Linked DNA regions of Homo sapiens: regions 1, 2, 3, 4 and 6 are each linked to region 5. Evidence: promoter capture Hi-C in 16 types of primary human blood cells and fetal thymus (Javierre and others, 2016). All regions are on one chromosome and are shown on one strand. Each heading gives the region's core, a stretch centred on a gene start or on the middle of the fragment in contact. The rest is flanking DNA. Distances are from core to core; before and after follow the strand shown. Region 1 overlaps IGF2R (insulin like growth factor 2 receptor). Region 2 overlaps IGF2R (insulin like growth factor 2 receptor). Region 3 overlaps IGF2R (insulin like growth factor 2 receptor). Region 4 overlaps LOC124901452 (a long non-coding RNA gene). Region 5 holds the start of WTAP (WT1 associated protein). Region 6 overlaps IGF2R (insulin like growth factor 2 receptor).

Region 1 (2,702 bases), core at 63-2,562, 320 kb before region 5:
GTGCCTTACCAGCCTGCCCCTGGAGCAGACGAGATGGATCCTCGTGGTATATGTGGTCTGTCTGCCATCGCTGGTGGTGCAGGCCGACCCATTCACGTATTCCAGAAGGAGGCTGCCGCTGTCCTCAACCACCGGGCCGGTCTTTGCCATTCCCAAGTTACTGATGGAAACCACTTCAGTGAAGGAGCCCTGCAAGAAAACCAGTCTTGTTAGGCTTTTCCCCCTGAAGATACAGTCGATTCGTTATTGGTGGTGGTTACATTCTATAAAGCTGCAGCAAACAATGAATTATTGAATACAGAACCACTGCTCCTGGGGAAATCCCCTTATTACATATGGAATAGGAAACCATCCTCAAAGAGTTAACAACAACTGCATGCTGCGTTCCAGGCATGCAATTGAGCACCAATCAGGCTGCATGCTGGCCTGTAACTGAAAGTCACATAGCACTAGATACTAGTCACATCCCCATTATTGCTACAGAAAGAATCACTGGCATTGGAATCATAAGGCTTTCGTTCAATAATCGTGTAAGATGTTCTTCAGATCCTGAATTCCGGTGGAACGGCTGACACTAACCACTATGAAGACCTCCCTACAGGGAACCAAATGCAGTTTCTTCATCTCCCCATCCGATGACTTCACCCTGCACTCTTCTACCAATAAACAATCCCCACACCTTGGCCCGCTCCAAATCCCTTAAGTCCCTCAACCCAAATTCCTTAGGGAGGTGAATTTGAGGTTTCTTCTCATCTCCTCATTCGCCTGCCCTACAATTAAACTCTTTCTCGGCTGTAATCCCCAATGTCTCAGCGTACTGACTGGCCGCACATCAGGCAAACAAACCTATTACACACAGATTATAAATCTGAAATCCCAAGACAACTCATGCTGACAGATTCTACTCTCTTTATTTTACAGAAGGAAAAACGAGGTTAAGGAGTGTTAAGTGGCTCACCTAAGGCTGCCCCGCTAAACTTTCCGAACACAAGGGAGTAAGTCATGTTTGAAAAGGCTTTAGTGTGAATTCTAGGCAAGAAACTTCTCTTAGGGAGACCTTACCAGGCAGTGCAGCGCGGAAGTTCCAGCTCTGGAGCATCTCTGAGTTGAGATGCCAGAGTTGGAATTCAGACCCCGTCCAACTGGCCCCAGGGCTGGAGCTTTTGCACTGCACTGCCTCGCCCTCTCCATCCCCTGCTCATCTCAGGGTGAGGCAGAAACAAGAGGCCAGAGTGTCCCCCTGTTCAACTTCAACCAGGAACAGGCTTGTCGGGTACTATGCACATTGGGCCACTACACTCGTTCCAACAATGACTGAGAAAGTGTTCCGCGTGGTGATTTTGGAGTTACACGTGTTCTCAAGTAGGCAAGTTCACAGATGCAGAATCTGTGAATAAAGAGGACTGACTATACACTGAACTCATTGCTCCAGTAAAGAACACACATGTGCAGAGGTAAACACAACCAGGAACTCGATTCCTAACCACCAGAGCACACTTGCCACCTTCCTTTCAAAAACCTCCAAGCTGCCATTAGCATACACCAAGAAAAGTACATTCCCAACATGCTATTTTTACAGAAGCCAATACAGATGTCCAGAGACATCTCTTTTAAGATTCACCACGTACAACGACCACAGGAGACGGGTAAATGTTCTGGCGGTGACTGCATTCAACCCAGGGACGAACTGCAGCGAATGAGAGCGTGTGCTTGAATCTGGTTCATCCACAGCAACTCTCCCAAATCGGTTTTTCCCCCTAATCAATCCAGAAACAAGAGCTTTTGGAAGCAAAACTCTCTTTTTCACAGGTGTCTGCTGAAAGCACCTAAAGACACTTTTGAATTCAGGCTAGACATAACCATTCGGTGCTTCCTCTGCCCTTTGTGTGATCAAAAGTCTGCAACACAGCATTCTCCATGTGAACAATGATTCCTGTGTGACACACTTCTGCTCCTACAGGAGGCAGATGAGTTCACATGGAGGCCCCACTCCTACTCAGAGGGTTTCTCTCGAGCAGCTGTGCTGCCTTTGATCTGGATGTCCCAGAATAACCACCTCCTCCCACTAAGTCATGGAATTAGGAGGGCAAAGGAGACAAGCAGTGAAAACAGATTCACCTGATCTTTTTCATACTTCATCTGGCAAGCCGATGCATATCGGTTGCAGCCCGGCACTGGATTCAGAGGCCGACACACGTTAATGTAGTATTTCCTCCACGTGACATGTTCCCCTGAGTTGTCCATGGCATACCAGTTTCCTCCAAGGCCACCTTCAGATTTTGCCAGACTAAAATTTCAAAGCAAAATGTATATGCTTTTAAAGAGCTTACACATTTCAGTCTCATTTATTTCTATGTAGTTGGGGAAGTAAAGCTACCAAATAAAACATGCTCCACCAATCACACTACCAGGAGTTGGCTTGTCTGGGCGCATGACGCACCAGGATTACACTCCACCTTCGCTGAACTCAGTATGCAGTGGACCTTAACTGTCCCCCGTGCCTCTGCACTGACAGTCATTGTTTTAAATGATGAAGCTAAAGGCCGAGGCTCTGCTGTGGCCAAGACTGGTTGCTATCCCAAAGGCGACCAGACAGTTATTAGAATTCACTCTGCTGAAAATGCCCCACCTTGGTCCTGCAGCCCCACAGCCAGCATCACTCCCCATCATCAGCTCAGTCACACGCTCACCAGCAACACTTG
Region 2 (2,700 bases), core at 83-2,582, 280 kb before region 5:
TCTTGTGTCAAATTGTAATCCTCAACATTGGAGGCGGGGCCTGGGGAGGTGACTGGATCATGAGGGCAGATTCCATCACCCCCTTCTTGCTATTATCATGATAGTGAGTGAGTTCTTGTGAGATCTGGTCATTTCAAAGTGGGCGGCACCTCCCCCTCCCACTCTCTTCCTCAGGCTCTGGCCACGTGAGGTGCTCGATACTCTGTTGCCTTCTGCCATGACTGTAAGTTTCCTGAGGCTTCTCCAGATGCAGATGCTGCCATTCTTCCTTTACAACCTGCGGAACTGTGAGCTAATTATACCTCTTTTCTTTATAAATTACCCAGTCTCAGGTGTTTCTTTATAGCACTGCGAGAATGAACACACTGTGCTCCCACCCTCACCCCCAAACCCCAAACAGATGTCTGCTTTGAGATGCTTTTCCCACCGCTAACAGTATGTCATCTAACAGCTTCACCTAAGTTTTTAAATGAAGCTTACATTTGACACTGTCTCCTAAATATCAGCCTTAATTCTTTCCACTTTAAACTTTTTTTTTTTCATTGAATGCTCCTTATGGCTTTCCTGGGCAGTATTTTACCACTTCCACTTCCATATGACACTGTCTTTCCCTTCATAGATGACCATATCTGAAAATATCAGTGATTTATTGTTCATAATTTAATCTGAATTAATGTTTTTAAATAAACATTTCTTTTTGTCTTATTAAACTGCATGGTATTAGGCCACTAGTAAAAATTACTGATTATGACCATTCATTAGTTCCTGAATCCTTACAACCTTTGAAAGTTCTTAAAAACAGAAAGTAGGAGAGAAAAGTGAGATAATCAATTAATTAAGATTGTTATCAAGGTGAGAACAGGAAATTCCCTTTAGGATCTGGGGTGGTGGGCATGGAGAAGCGGCAGAAGGAACACAGTCTGCTCTTCCCCAGGACCAGGGAGAATCAAGTAGCAGTGCAACATGAGGGAATCCAGGCTGGGGAAGGGGACATTCCATTAGTCAACAAGAATGACCTGCCCAAGAGATCCATTAAACACCACCACAACCACAGTTAATAACAATGTAATTTATTCTTGCGTATCACTAAGAGAGTAGATTTTAAGAGTCCTCACAAAAAAAAAAAAAAAAACGAAATATGTGAGGTAACACATATGTAATTAGCTCAATGTAGCCATTCCTCAATGTATACATATTTCAAAATATCATGTTGCACATAATACATATAGGTCAGTGTGTATGTATATAGATATATATACATACATGCACCCAAGAAGAATGTCTTGACCAAGGAATGCTGGGTTCAAATAATAAGGGGTGGACGTAATAGTAACAGTAACCTAGTAATCTAGTCTCTGAGGTGAGCTGGAAAAGAATTTAAGGGATACCTGACCTGGACTCACATTGCAGCCAGAAGTCATCCCAAGGCTGAGGAGAGGGACAGAGAGATTTAACAATGCAAACAGGTAAAGGAGACTTATCAAAAGCGGGGTACAACACAGGTGGAAAGCCAGGTGCAAAGGAAGATGAAGCAGGCAGCGTCAGAAACAGATGGCTCCTGCAGGTAGAGTGAATACTCTAAGCCCAAGCCCAAACACGTCACTTAGTTTACTGAGTTGCACAGCACCAGAAACCAAGAACTAACTTGCCCTATATGGATGAGCCATTCTATTTCCAATCTGGACCAAAAATCACATCCTGTGATATTTTAAATGCCCTGTCCTAAAAATAAGAACCACTCAGAAAAGTTTTAAAAATTAAATCACATGGTATCTCTGCTCAAATGCAATTTGGAAGCTAAAAAAGATTTTCACCCGGAAAGGTTAGAATCAGTATTTGAAAGATAAAGTTCCCCAGAGTATACTTCATAAGCATGTAATTTGAAGTTCCCATGTTACCTCCTTATTTGCTTTAAATATGTCTTTCTTGCAGGCTGCAGTGGTCCTCCACTCAAAGTAGTGCACACATTCTGTTGCAGTTACAAATTCAGGAGTTCCCTATTAAAAAAAAATAGTAATTATAATGTTACCATACCACACATTGTAAAGATTCTTCTTTAAAATGAGAATGCAGTAAAGGCTACTAAAATAAAGAAAGCAGCAGCAAGAAGGGCAGGGGATGCAACCGCTTTAGTTAAACGGGGTCATCAAGAGGTTCCCAAATCTGCAAATTCTGAGACCAAAGCTTCATAAAATCATGTTGGGATTTTGTGTAACTAATCCAAAGGAATTCTACCGCCCCAGCTGTGCAAGTACATTGAGTGAGTTCATGGGAAGAAATCCTCAGTCATTCTCCTCTCAAACTCCAAATGTTCTCTTAAGCAAATGCCAGCAAACGAAAGCCAGAAAACGTGACCTCATGCTTCCCGTGAAAAGGCTCCCATGAGGAGCCCATCTGCATCTGACCAAGTTAGTACACCCACCAGACGCCAACCCTCCAAGGCAGCCCCTCCTGTTAACCGCAACCAGAGTGGACTACAAACAGGTCAACCCCAGCATCGCAGGATGACACAAGCACAGCAGGAACTGGCCTCTTCACTCCCACGTGCAAGTCTAGGGAGTTATCCTTCACAGTTCTATTTCTGGTATGGTGAACACAGAATTCATAAAGGAAATTAGCTGAAGTTAAAACAGGAGCTATATATTTTATTCTGTAATATAAATCTCATTTAATGCTGCTGCGAACAGATTCTTTTTTGGG
Region 3 (2,700 bases), core at 129-2,628, 340 kb before region 5:
ACAAGGGCAGGTGAGAGACTCCTGGCAATCCACTACACTGATGCTGAAAGGCAGCCAGGGGCTAGCTCTAACCTGCCCTGGAGAGCCTAGAGCTGCTGGACTGACACTGTCAGTAACCCCAGTCAGGAGCACCTCTCACACCAGGAGAGTGACAGGAGGGATGGATTCTCTGTGGGAGCATTCTCTCCTCCACTGAAGGAGAGCCAGGAGAACACACAGCAGCCCATCCAGAGAAAGGCCAAACACACCCACACACCATGACACCTCTGCCCAGGGCGCCTGCTGCCCATAGCTTCTCTTTGGGTCTCTCCCCTGATGAGCTGGGTTTGGTGGGGGCACCGTCTCTCACCTGCGCTGGGGTTAACGACTGGCACCACCTCTCACCTGTGCTTGGGTTGGTGACCTGGCAGTCATCATGCTCGTTGCTCTTCATGGGACAGGCTGTGGCTGTGGGCCAGGCAAAGGTGTACTCACAGTCCTCCACGGCGCTGATGAACATGGGCCTGGAGTTCTACAACAAAGCACAGACAGGTCCTGAAGGGATCACGCAAAAACTCCATGTCTATCATGATTTCAACTTACAAGTGGAAGCTTCTCTGAAAAACTCCACAGCATGTGACATTTCTGTCTCCATGTGCCTGTGGGATGAGGCGCAGATTAGGAAAAGCAAAGGGTCAGAATGTGTCCTGAGCTGCCACCATGGGCTTCCCCTGCAGGTAAGTGAAACACCCACAGGCAGCAACACACTTAGGGGACCAGGAAGCTCCCTCAGGCTGAGGAACAGGACAGGGGTTGGGGACAGGCGTGCAAAGGATGCTGGAAGGGCTACAGGGAGACACAAATGTGTAAATCATTGATAAAATTCTAAAAACCAAATGAGGTAAAATCCATTATCACAGTCAAAACAAAAAGATATACCAAGAGAACTAGCCCATTCCACGCATCCTCCCACTGGCACCAGCCAAGGCTTACTCTGCTCATCTCAAAACGCTTCATGTCCACTGCAGAGTTAGCATGATGAGTTCAGCAGCACCTTCCTTCCCAGGTAAACCCCATGATTCCTGCTGGGCACCCTGATAAGCCACGCTGCAGTCCAGCCTCCCAGGCCCTGGGCACAGGGGCCTCGACACACCCCCACCCTTCCCTCCCAGCCTCCTGGGCCCTGGGCACAGGGGCCTCGACACACCCCCACCCTTCCCTCCCAGCCTCCTGGGTCTGGGGCACAGGGCCTCCACACACCCTTCACCTTTCCCTCCCAGCCTCCTGGGTCTGGGGCACAGAGGCCCCCACACACCACCCTCATCCTTCCCTCCCAGCCTCCTGGGCTCTGGACATGGGGAACCCCACACACCCCTTCACCCTTCCCTCCCAGCCTTCTGGGCCCTGGGCACAGGGGCCCCACACACCCTCTCACCTTTGCCCCCCACATGTGGGGCAGCCCTTTTGTCCTCGGCCATGAGCCTCTCAGGTCACAGAGGAGAATGCTCAGAGGCCCCAGCAGCTCATGAGTCTGGACTAAGCCTCTGCACAATCTTCCCAAGAGGAAACTTCCCTGCCGCTCCAGGCAAGAGGGCAGGCCTGAAGCTCCTGGAGCCCCCCATCCCAAGCTCCCCTACCACTGCTGCCCACCGCTGGAGAGCATGGGGCGAGCCACCCTGACACCCAGCGAGCTGGTCTTGCCCGAGTTAATGCCCAACTCAGCCACCGAGCTTGTCATGCACGCTAGCACTGGGGCTCACCACAATCTCACACACAGAAAAACCTGTATGCAGTCGACACCTGCTTACGTGCATGCCAAACAAGTAAGGGAAGAACTGATCACAGGCACTCATGCTCACTGACTGTGCATCTCCCGTGTGTCAGAAATGACACCTGGCACTTCCTACCTCTTCTCTCGAAACCCTGCAATGGGCAGGACAAGTATGCCTCATGTTATGAACGGCTGAGCAGGGCAGACTACCTGAGTAATTAACCAAGTTATGTGGCTGGGAAGTGGCAGCGCTACCTGTGACCCGGGCCCAGCCAACCTTCTCGTGCTTCCCAAGCTGCCGCCGTGAAGACAAAAGGGCATGTAGTCAAACAACAATCTCCTCCACAGCCTTTAGGGGTCTGAGTCAAACTCTGAAGAGAACCAATTCTGAGTCGGGAACTGCCAGGCAAGCTTCTAAGGAGCCAGACAGCACGAGGGTTCCCCAGATTGCAGGCCGCGGCGACGCTGTTCCCCCAACCTCTGGTAAGGGCGCATCATCCCAGGCTCTAGAACTCGCATCCCAAGGCAGATGAGGACGTGCGGCTCACCGCCCTGCACATGGGCTCAATTCCCAAAGCTGCAACAGCAGAAGGTGCAGGAACAGTCCCTTACCACTTGGCTCTCGCTGCAGGTGAATCGGATGGTGGTTGACTTTTTCCGAATCCCATCTGGACATAAGTCGCCATCAACGTATTTCAGGACAATTATGCCATCTCTCCACTGAGGTCCGTCCCTTACCCTGCCGAGGTTCACGGGCTTGGAGCCACCCAGCAGACACGCGGCTGCTTCTGGAGGGCACGGCTCTGCAGCACCAGACACAAGAAAGAGTTGCCTTTAGTGACTCCCCAGGCTAGAACAGAACTTCATCAGGCAATAAATGTCACACACGCTGCAGAACTTCATACGCTTTCTAAGAGTCACTTCAAAATACCTGCTATTTCTTTCACATA
Region 4 (2,700 bases), core at 62-2,561, 390 kb before region 5:
TCCATCTCCCAAGCAGTATACACTGCACCCAATTTGGGTGTTTTAAGCTCCACCTCTTCATTTGTGTGTGTGTATACATGTCTAGATGTGTTTACTTGTATGTACACTTACTGTTATATGTTGTGTCTACCAAATTGGCTTATAAGTAAAAGAGTGTTCATAAATTAAGTAAATAAGTCTAAGCAATTTTCAAATTCACTTAAGTATGACTTTGCTAAATAGGCTGTCTTTTAAATTATCAGTAAAATGAAAATAGAAATGTCTTCAAAATATAGACATGGTCTAAATTATGCAAGTCAGAAACTAGGTTGACTAAATGCTTTAAGGTCATAAACTGCTTTGGCTTTTGAAAATTGTTCAACTTTCCTGCTTTGCAGTTTGGTAGGGCCTGCCCTAGCTATGCTGGAAATAGTTAGACCTCATCTGCACCTAAGTACGTAACTAAAATAACTTACTGGGTATTTCACCAAAATTAACAATTACTAAGAGCTACCATTATAACATGTAGTGATGACTACTGAAAACAGATCTACACGTGAGGTGAGTAAGGAGAGTAAAATGTATCATTAGTAAAATAATATAAGAAGGCATGGGAATGTAAATTTTTGCCTAGTTCAGAGGGTTAAATGATTGTTTTAAATTATATAAGATAAAGCTTAAGGTTCAAACAAGTTATGGAAGGTTTGTAAAAAATTAATCTTGTAAAAGGAATCCTGTGTGTAAACATATTGACTACACTAAAAAGGATATTATTTGGTTTTCCATAAGTTGAACAATGGAATACAAGCACAACAAGGTTTTCTTGAAGCACTTACATGCTGTTTAACAAAAAAAATTTGTAAAAGGTTATAAAAGATTTATAACAATCTCAGTTCATGATCAAACTGATTAAGATTGGATGGATTTCTCTGTAAGGTTTTATTTTTTTTAATTGGGGTTGACATTAATAGACTAATGTAAGGGTAAAATTTGGCTTTCACTTGAACAAGATTTTCATGCAATGAAAGATTTTGTTTTCTTTGTGAATAAGCTACTGACACAAGAAGGGAAGGACAAGAGATCAACAGGACTCCAGGGTCAATAGGGCTCCATAGCTGAGGGGAAGGGAGCTCAGCAGCCTGACATGCTGGCGAAAGGGTAAAAGTTCTTACCAGTCAGACTTTTGGTTTCTCTCTCTGTGCAAACTGGTTGCAGGAACAATAAAAAAATCACTATATTCTCTGCCCCTCCATGAATTCAACTGGCCATTTGGCATGGCTAAAGTTGGATAATAAGAGACTTAAAAGGACTTCTTAAAAAGGAGTGCGATGGTTAAAAGTTAGATTGTTTGGAAAATTAGGTCTTCCCTCTTAGTGACTGAAGGTTTTTGCTTTGAGTCATTTAAATGAATGACTTATAGTAACCAAAAATTCTGTTAAGTGTTTTGAGCCTTTACAGCTTCAAAATTTTCTTTCCTAACCCCTGAGTTTTGGATGCTACAGAAGACACCTGGAGCATCGAAAGGGAGAGGTAAACAGGGTTATTTGACAAGTTTAGTTACATAGGATTACCAAAATAAGGTGTTTGATCTTCAGGTTATATTTTAGTGAAAAATGTTAATGTGTGTTTCAAAATTGTATGGGATTTCTAGATTTCTGATGCCTGAGTTTGTGTTATCAATCATAGCTAGGGTTATTGTGTTAGGTTATTGTAAATCACAGAGGTGACCAGATTTCTTCATCAATTGTGTTTTTGACTATGAATACGCTAGGACATTTTGACATTCACAGACAATTGTTGTCATGTTTTGATCCTCTTCAAGGGATGGATTATAGTCTTCAAATGCAGATTTCTGATAATTTTGGAGATTGTGAATAGGAGTTGACTGGGTGAGCTGAACTAATAGAAGACTGAAGCAATCTTGTTTTGACCTTTTGCTTGGAATACTGTTGATCCTTTATCTTGTTTTTCAGAATCAAGGAAGCTTTTCTTTTGAGCTATTTGTAGCTTTTGACAATTGTGAAGGTGAACCAACTAGTGATATCTGACTACAGCTCAGAAGAAACAAGGGATGGGCCGTTAAACTCCAAATGGTCATGAAAATGGAGCCTCAGATGATGGCTGCCTTGTACTGGATATTCTTAGATAGGTCTCTGAGAGAGACTTGACTGTTGTTTTCCCAAAACAATATCCCTGGTCAGCACGAAGCAGTTAAGAGTGGTCATTGTCCCTACCCTAACAGCAGTTAGGTGTACCTCTTCAGAGGGGGAAATGATGGCAGCAGCAGGGAGGCGTGGCTGGGGCTGAACACTCCACGGAGCTGATGGAAGCCCCACCCTCCTGGGACTGTGGATCCAAGCCTCCTTGTGCTCTTGGAGGGGGCCAGCAGCAGGCCAGATCTGCCTGCCTGGATGCAGCTGCAACCACCTGACCTGTGGCTGCAGACCTGGGCCTCTCACTCCACAGAGCAGGCAGGAGCCAGGGACAAGCAGGAACCCCACCCCTTCTGAGTTGGCAGGGTGGGAGTTCCGTGGATGCAGCTGTGGCTGCCCTCCCAGGCACAAGACCTGGGCATCTCTGCAGCCTGCAACCTCAGGGGCCTGGGAAGGCCTCCCCACTAGTCCCCATCCCAGGCTCAGAAGAGTCTGCTCCCACTGCCTGGCCCCTCTCCCATCCCAGCACCTGCTCCGATCTCAGAGCAGGGTTGGGGTTGAGACCTGG
Region 5 (2,700 bases), core at 103-2,602:
TTTAAACCATGTGTCTGCTTAAGATACCTTAACATATAAAAGCACTGTAAGAAACACACCTACCCAAACCCTTAAAATGTAACCTCAACCTTATCACAAGCCAGCTTTGCGGACTGCAATCTTTCCCCGACTTGGCTAATCAGATGCTACTTGAATGAATTAAAATGTATCCATCTTGAAAAGATTTTTCGCTCATAGTTTTAAATTACGGTTTTAAATGTCCACAACATGTTTATCTATCGTAGAAAACTTAATGGTCAAAATTTTAAAATCCAAAAAACGAGAACTTGCGATGGATCTATGACGTCCACTTATCTTCCGAAGCAATGGAATTAACTAAAACTAGATAAAATAGGCACAAATACAACTTCCAATTGTAACATACTCATAGAAGTATTTCCCTACCAGACTAAATAATAGTTTTTTTGTTTTGTTTTGTTTTTTTTACATAATCACAGTTATGCTAGTCCTTGATAATGTTAAGCTAATCCTTTGGGATCAAACAACCAAGTGACTTTCTTATCAAAACAAGAACTCGGGCTTTTCCATTACGTGTACACAGACTTATGAAAAACGGTGAAAAAAAAATCTAGTAACTGTCTCACAGGGATCCAAGGTAAGACTTGGATTTCACAAAAATCTGCAATAATTCAGTTTCTTTCCTCAGAATGCTTATACTCATTTAAAAATGGAAGTCTACAAGAGAACGTAGTAACATCCTACTGCGTGACATGAAATGTAGGGAACGAATGTTTCTTTTTTTCCTTGCTGAACTCGTTAGTGCCGCCAGGTCCTCAGGAGAGGCCCAAGGGAGGTGAAGGGGGCGACCCCGAGGCGAGGAAAAAACGAGCGCCGCCGCTCAGCCCGGGGAGGGCATCCTCCGGCCTCCGTGAGTGGCCGGTCTCTCCGGCCGCCAGAGCACCCCTCTCAACCCGGGCCTTGGGGACGGAGGACAGAGATAAAATGGCCTCGAAGCGGCGGAAGTGTTCCCCGCAGGCGGGAAGGTAGAGCGGCTCACGAGAGACCGGTGCCGCACCAGGCCCGTGTGGCCTTTCGGGCCCTGCCCGCCCCTTACCCGCCGGGGGCGGCTGCGCATCAGCCCTCAGGCCCCGGAGGTCCCCCGCGTCCGCTCCCGCCAGCCGGCCCGCGCCTACCTCTCCAGGCAGAAGCCGCGCCGGCGCCACCGGTCGCATAGGCCGAGGCCGCGCTGCTTGCCCTGCCGCCCGGGCCCCCCGGGCCACCGCGCAGCCGGACAGCTCTGCCGCCGGCCCCGCCGCGCTCCTAGTCCCGCCGCAACCCCTGCGCTCCCCTTTATTTGTGGGTCTCGCTGCCACAAAATGGCGCTGAGGGAGGAAACCAGGCCCCGCCGCCCGGCCCCGCCCCGCCGCACGGCTCCGCTCCGCCCTGCCCCGCCCCACAGCCGGTCCGAACGCGCCGCAGGCCAGCGCCACTGCCTCCCGCCTCCCGCCTCCCGCCTCCCGCCAGCCTCCCCGCTCCGCCATGTTCGCCTTCTGGCCCACTCACAGGAGAGTCGCCTTTCAGGCGTGGCCGCAGTCACTCGCCCGCCGCCGAACCCCGCCAGGAGAGGAAAGGTGAAGGGAGGGAGGCCGTCGGCCTAGCCCGATCGGGGCCTCGAGGCACAATGGAGCAGCTGCTCCCCGGTAACACTCCCCGTCCTTTCCCAGGAGCCTGGCGCGAGCTCCGCGGGCCCCGGAGCTCAGCAAGCTCAGTAAGGGAAGCGGCCGAGGGGAGGGGCGGGCCAGCGAGGTCGGAGGTCAGCCCCAGGGCATCACGGGAAGGGAAGGTGGAAGTACTCGCCGGGGCCACCTGCGGCTGCGGGGCTGCCTCGTGCGGAGGGATCTGGGCGAAGGCGGCGCGTGATTGGCCGCTCTGTGTTCGTGACGCTCATCCGTGATGCTTCCGCGTGTCGGAGGACCAGGTGCCACCTCAAGAGAGAGGCCGTGGGCGGCGAGCCGCGGGCGTTTACTCTTAGCAGAAGCTCACCTGTAAGTTTTGAGAACTTAGAAACCGATGCCTTCCCTCTCATCAGTCGTGAGGCGCAGTCTCCTGGCCGCTGGGTTCGTTCCTCCTTGACATCTCTGGAGACGCATCGAGGAGCTATTGTTCTCTGGCGTCGGAGGTTGCGCTGTGTCCGCGGCGTTGAGGGCCCCTTGCTAACTGGAACACGGGGAAGGCGGCCCTGTGAGGTTTAGTGAACTCAATCAAAGAGGTCCTGCAAGTGGAGTAGACTCCCTGAAGTAAGACTGCCATCTGGACCGCCGAGTAATGGCGGTGTTACCTGGAGAACGTGAAACAGTCTCTAAACACTTACTAGAAGAGCACGTAATTCTTTTGATTGGTCTGTCCTTAGCCGGCTTTATCAAACCTGTTCATCCCCAAAGGAGTGTCTTGTAGTAAGGTGATTTATTAGGATAAGATTAAAGTACATTCCAGATGGTCGTAGTATATTTCCAGTGAATCAGATCGGTCTGGAGAAAATCTTTGCAACTCGTATCACAAGAGCTCTCAAAAATTGAAAACAAAAAGTGCAAAAGCCAAAGGAGAAAATGGGGAAGGACATGAACAGATGATTCTCAGAAAAAATACCGTAATGGTCTTTAAACATAGAAAGTCGCTCCACCTCACTTACAATGGAAATACACGTTGAAATTACCTTTCCTGGTGGGAGTGGAAAAATGG
Region 6 (2,754 bases), core at 249-2,748, 380 kb before region 5:
GGAAGGAGTGGGGCCTGACCTCCTTCACCCTCTCCCCCATCACAAAAACTCTTCCCTTTTGAAAGTTTCTGTTAAAGGCAAAATTATAGAAGCATCATCGAGTGGAAGTCTTATTTGGTTGGAGGTGCTTGGCTGTCCCGCGGCTCCGTGCTCCCCTGCAGGCACTGCGGAGTCAGATGTGTAAGAGGTCCTCGTCGCTGTCGTCATGGAAGGACACCAGCTTGGTGGAGCTCACTGTCTTCTGCTGTGCAGAGCTGGACTTCCCTTTCCTCGCCTTCTCACCCCTGACCAGCCCCACCCTATCGTCCTCACGCTCCTGAAGGGCATTGCTCTGTGCGTTTCTCACTGGGTGGGAGCTCTCTGCCCCAGCTCCCCTGCCCGAGTGAACTTTCACCTCTGGGATGGTCAGAACCTCATCCTCACTGTCCTGGTCATCCCCATGCAGGGAGCTGAGGGCTTTCACTGACTTGGTGGTAATATGGCCGTTCTCCTGCCCTTCCTTTCCCTGCCGTGGAGGAGGCAGCTGGATCTCTTCCATCAGCCACTCTGTTTCATTCTCATCTGTCTCTTCTTCCTTATTCACCTGCCAGGGATCAACAGCAGAGACCACGTGAGCCCCCTAAGAGACCCCATTCTGCTCCACCATCCACCACATCAGGGATGCTCTCTGCTGGCACGAGCTGGGGAAGAACTGGCCCACTGTCCTCACAGTCACTGCATCTCCAGTTCCCAGGGAAAGGAAGACGAGGGCTGGCAACACCTTCCTGTTCCTAATGAGACTGCACCAAGGCAGGAGGGTTTGGGAGGGTGGCAGTGGGGTCATTTGGCAGGAGTCTCACAGCCAAGGGTGGGACCAAGCAGAAGGCGTTCGGGATGGCCTGGACCGAAAAGCAGACCAGTGATCCCCCAGCGCAGCTGGGGGAGAAGGGGCTCTTCCGGGCTACTCATAGACTGAAAGGTGCCCACTGCATGGCAGGGGAGGAATGTCAAAGGAGGGACTCCAGTCAAAAGCCTAGTTTTAGAGAGCAATTCATCATTACCCATCGAGACCACAAACATTATGTCCTTTGATCCAGATAATGCCTCTTTTCTGCAAATTTACCTGAAAGAAATCATCCAAATGCTACATGCACAACTATCTTCACTACTGTGTGTGTGTGTGTTTTGTTTTTTTTTTAAAGAACAGCCAAAAACAGTGGAAACAACCTAATTATTAAATACTTCAAGGAAATCAGTTGTAACCACGAGAGAAACTTGAGGGAAAAAAATAACAAAAAAATGTGCTGGCGTAAGTGGCTGAGGCAACGGGTGTTGCTTTCCTTTCTGGATTCCAGTCAGCCTGTGACTGCTTTCCTTGGCACCCCTGATGAGAACGACATGGACAGCGCAGCACAGGGGGCCGGGGAGGCAGGCCTTCAAGAGACTCGCCACAGAAAATTACCTTTGAGTATTTGTAGGACACGTTGGAACTTCTCCTACAGCAAGTGGTCAGCTTACTTATCACTGTTTCCCTATAAAAAAAAAGGAGACAATAATTACTCCAGTGTAGAGAGGGCATGGGCAGGAGCCCCACCCCCGCCAGCCCCACCCCCATCTGCACCACCAGGGGGCTGGTGGTGGCTGCATTTCTCCCACATTCTGAATGACAAATGAGTAGCCGTGACAGGTTATATATACCCTAATGTATTTGTTGTGATTGAGTGGAAAGAAGATGGGCTTTGGAATCCAACAGCAGAGGGCCCTCTAGAGCAACTTAACATTAGGGCAAGGACTTTTTCACATGACTAACAGGACCACACCAGTCCGTCGCCACTAAGCCTGCCCAATGGTGGCTCGCAGAGACAGACATCACATGCCCTTCCCGGCCCAGACCTTCTTCTGCCCCATTCTGCATTTTGGGTGTAGAGGGCCACAATCGGTACTTTTTTTTTTTTTTTGGACAGAGTCTCACTGTGTTGCCCAGGCTAGAGTGCAGTGGTGAGATCTTGGCTCACTGCAACCTCCATGGTTGGTACTTTCTGACCACCTCTCTCATTGGCCTGTGGCTCAGCTGGCAAATGACAGTGGCAGCAGGGAACGCCTGAGCTGGCCAGCTCCTGCCCCCAGGTCAGAGCCACTAACACTGACGCCTGACGTGAAAATCTGCTTGACCGTCACATGGAGAGTCCTTTCACCCAGCAAAGTGGCGCAAAAGGATGGCATCATACCTGGTACATAGCAGGCGCTTAATAAACTCCTGCATTTATGATGTGAGGAGGGCAGAGGGGTCAGCTGCTCAGTGGGAAAAGGCACCCATGAAAGGTGCCGTTTAATGTTCTACTCATCTTTGGACACAAAGGACCACGGTCCTAGAAGCCGCAGGCACGGGTGATGTGCGAGGGCCTCGGCCTTGGTCAGACAGAAATGCAGGCATTTAAAAACCACAACGCTGGGGACTGCTTCCAGAGAGTTTTGGACTAAGAACCTCGAGCCTTCGCTGCTGTAGGGCTTAAAAACAAATAAATAAAACCCCACAAAACTGACCCCAAGATTAGCTATGGGAGGCATGCATCCACCCGCCCCACCTCGCCCTGCCACCCGCTTACCTCCTCTCCTTCTTGTAGAGCAACAGGGCCAGCAGGCAGCAGGTGAGCGCCACCAGCAGCAGGCTGAGCACCGCGCCGACTGCCTGGCTCCGTTCTGACAGCCCCTTGTGCATCTGCCCGTCGTCCCCGGGATTCTCGCTGTCAAAGCCCACCCTGCAAGGACGTCACA

Evidence for each region. The method cuts DNA at HindIII sites, captures the fragments that hold promoters and counts their contacts. A CHiCAGO score of 5 or more calls a contact.
Region 1: a contact is called between a fragment that was not itself captured here and the fragment with the promoter of WTAP in region 5, in 1 of 17 cell types (neutrophils). The highest score is 6.6, in neutrophils.
Region 2: a fragment that was not itself captured here is called in contact with the fragment with the promoter of WTAP in region 5 in 1 of 17 cell types (fetal thymus); the score reaches 5.2 in fetal thymus.
Region 3: a fragment that was not itself captured here is called in contact with the fragment with the promoter of WTAP in region 5 in 1 of 17 cell types (neutrophils); the score reaches 7.0 in neutrophils.
Region 4: a fragment that was not itself captured here is called in contact with the fragment with the promoter of WTAP in region 5 in 1 of 17 cell types (neutrophils); the score reaches 5.8 in neutrophils.
Region 6: a contact is called between a fragment that was not itself captured here and the fragment with the promoter of WTAP in region 5, in 1 of 17 cell types (neutrophils). The highest score is 5.1, in neutrophils.

The regions. Positions count from the first base shown.
Region 1 is chr6:160,047,960-160,050,661 of GRCh38, reverse strand. IGF2R (insulin like growth factor 2 receptor) reads right to left here. Exons shown (of 48, transcript NM_000876.4): 18 at 2,119-2,287; 19 at 10-189. Among named protein-coding and RNA genes, the nearest start is that of AIRN, 42 kb to the right of the region's middle. The HindIII fragment of the contact is 3,349 bases long and covers 1-2,702 here.
Region 2 is chr6:160,009,984-160,012,683 of GRCh38, reverse strand. IGF2R (insulin like growth factor 2 receptor) reads right to left here. Exons shown (of 48, transcript NM_000876.4): 4 at 1,899-1,997. Among named protein-coding and RNA genes, the nearest start is that of AIRN, 3.7 kb to the right of the region's middle. The HindIII fragment of the contact is 1,709 bases long and covers 478-2,186 here.
Region 3 is chr6:160,069,721-160,072,420 of GRCh38, reverse strand. IGF2R (insulin like growth factor 2 receptor) reads right to left here. Exons shown (of 48, transcript NM_000876.4): 31 at 2,363-2,553; 32 at 385-511. Among named protein-coding and RNA genes, the nearest start is that of SLC22A1, 51 kb to the left of the region's middle. The HindIII fragment of the contact is 1,570 bases long and covers 594-2,163 here.
Region 4 is chr6:160,118,682-160,121,381 of GRCh38, reverse strand. LOC124901452 (a long non-coding RNA gene) reads left to right here. Exons shown (of 2, transcript XR_007059842.1): 1 at 1-540; 2 at 1,953-2,700. Among named protein-coding and RNA genes, the nearest start is that of SLC22A1, 1.8 kb to the left of the region's middle. The HindIII fragment of the contact is 1,308 bases long and covers 658-1,965 here.
Region 5 is chr6:159,726,158-159,728,857 of GRCh38, reverse strand. It overlaps WTAP (WT1 associated protein), which reads right to left and starts at 1,352. Exons shown (of 8, transcript NM_001270531.2): 1 at 1,155-1,352. It also overlaps a transcript of SOD2 not described here. RefSeq lists a silencer at 934-1,483 and enhancers at 946-1,543, 1,494-1,623, 1,974-2,063, 1,544-2,141. The HindIII fragment of the contact is 6,285 bases long and covers 1-2,700 here.
Region 6 is chr6:160,102,503-160,105,256 of GRCh38, reverse strand. IGF2R (insulin like growth factor 2 receptor) reads right to left here. Exons shown (of 48, transcript NM_000876.4): 46 at 2,586-2,738; 47 at 1,442-1,511; 48 at 1-583. The coding sequence ends at 173. Among named protein-coding and RNA genes, the nearest start is that of SLC22A1, 18 kb to the left of the region's middle. The HindIII fragment of the contact is 6,206 bases long and covers 1-2,754 here.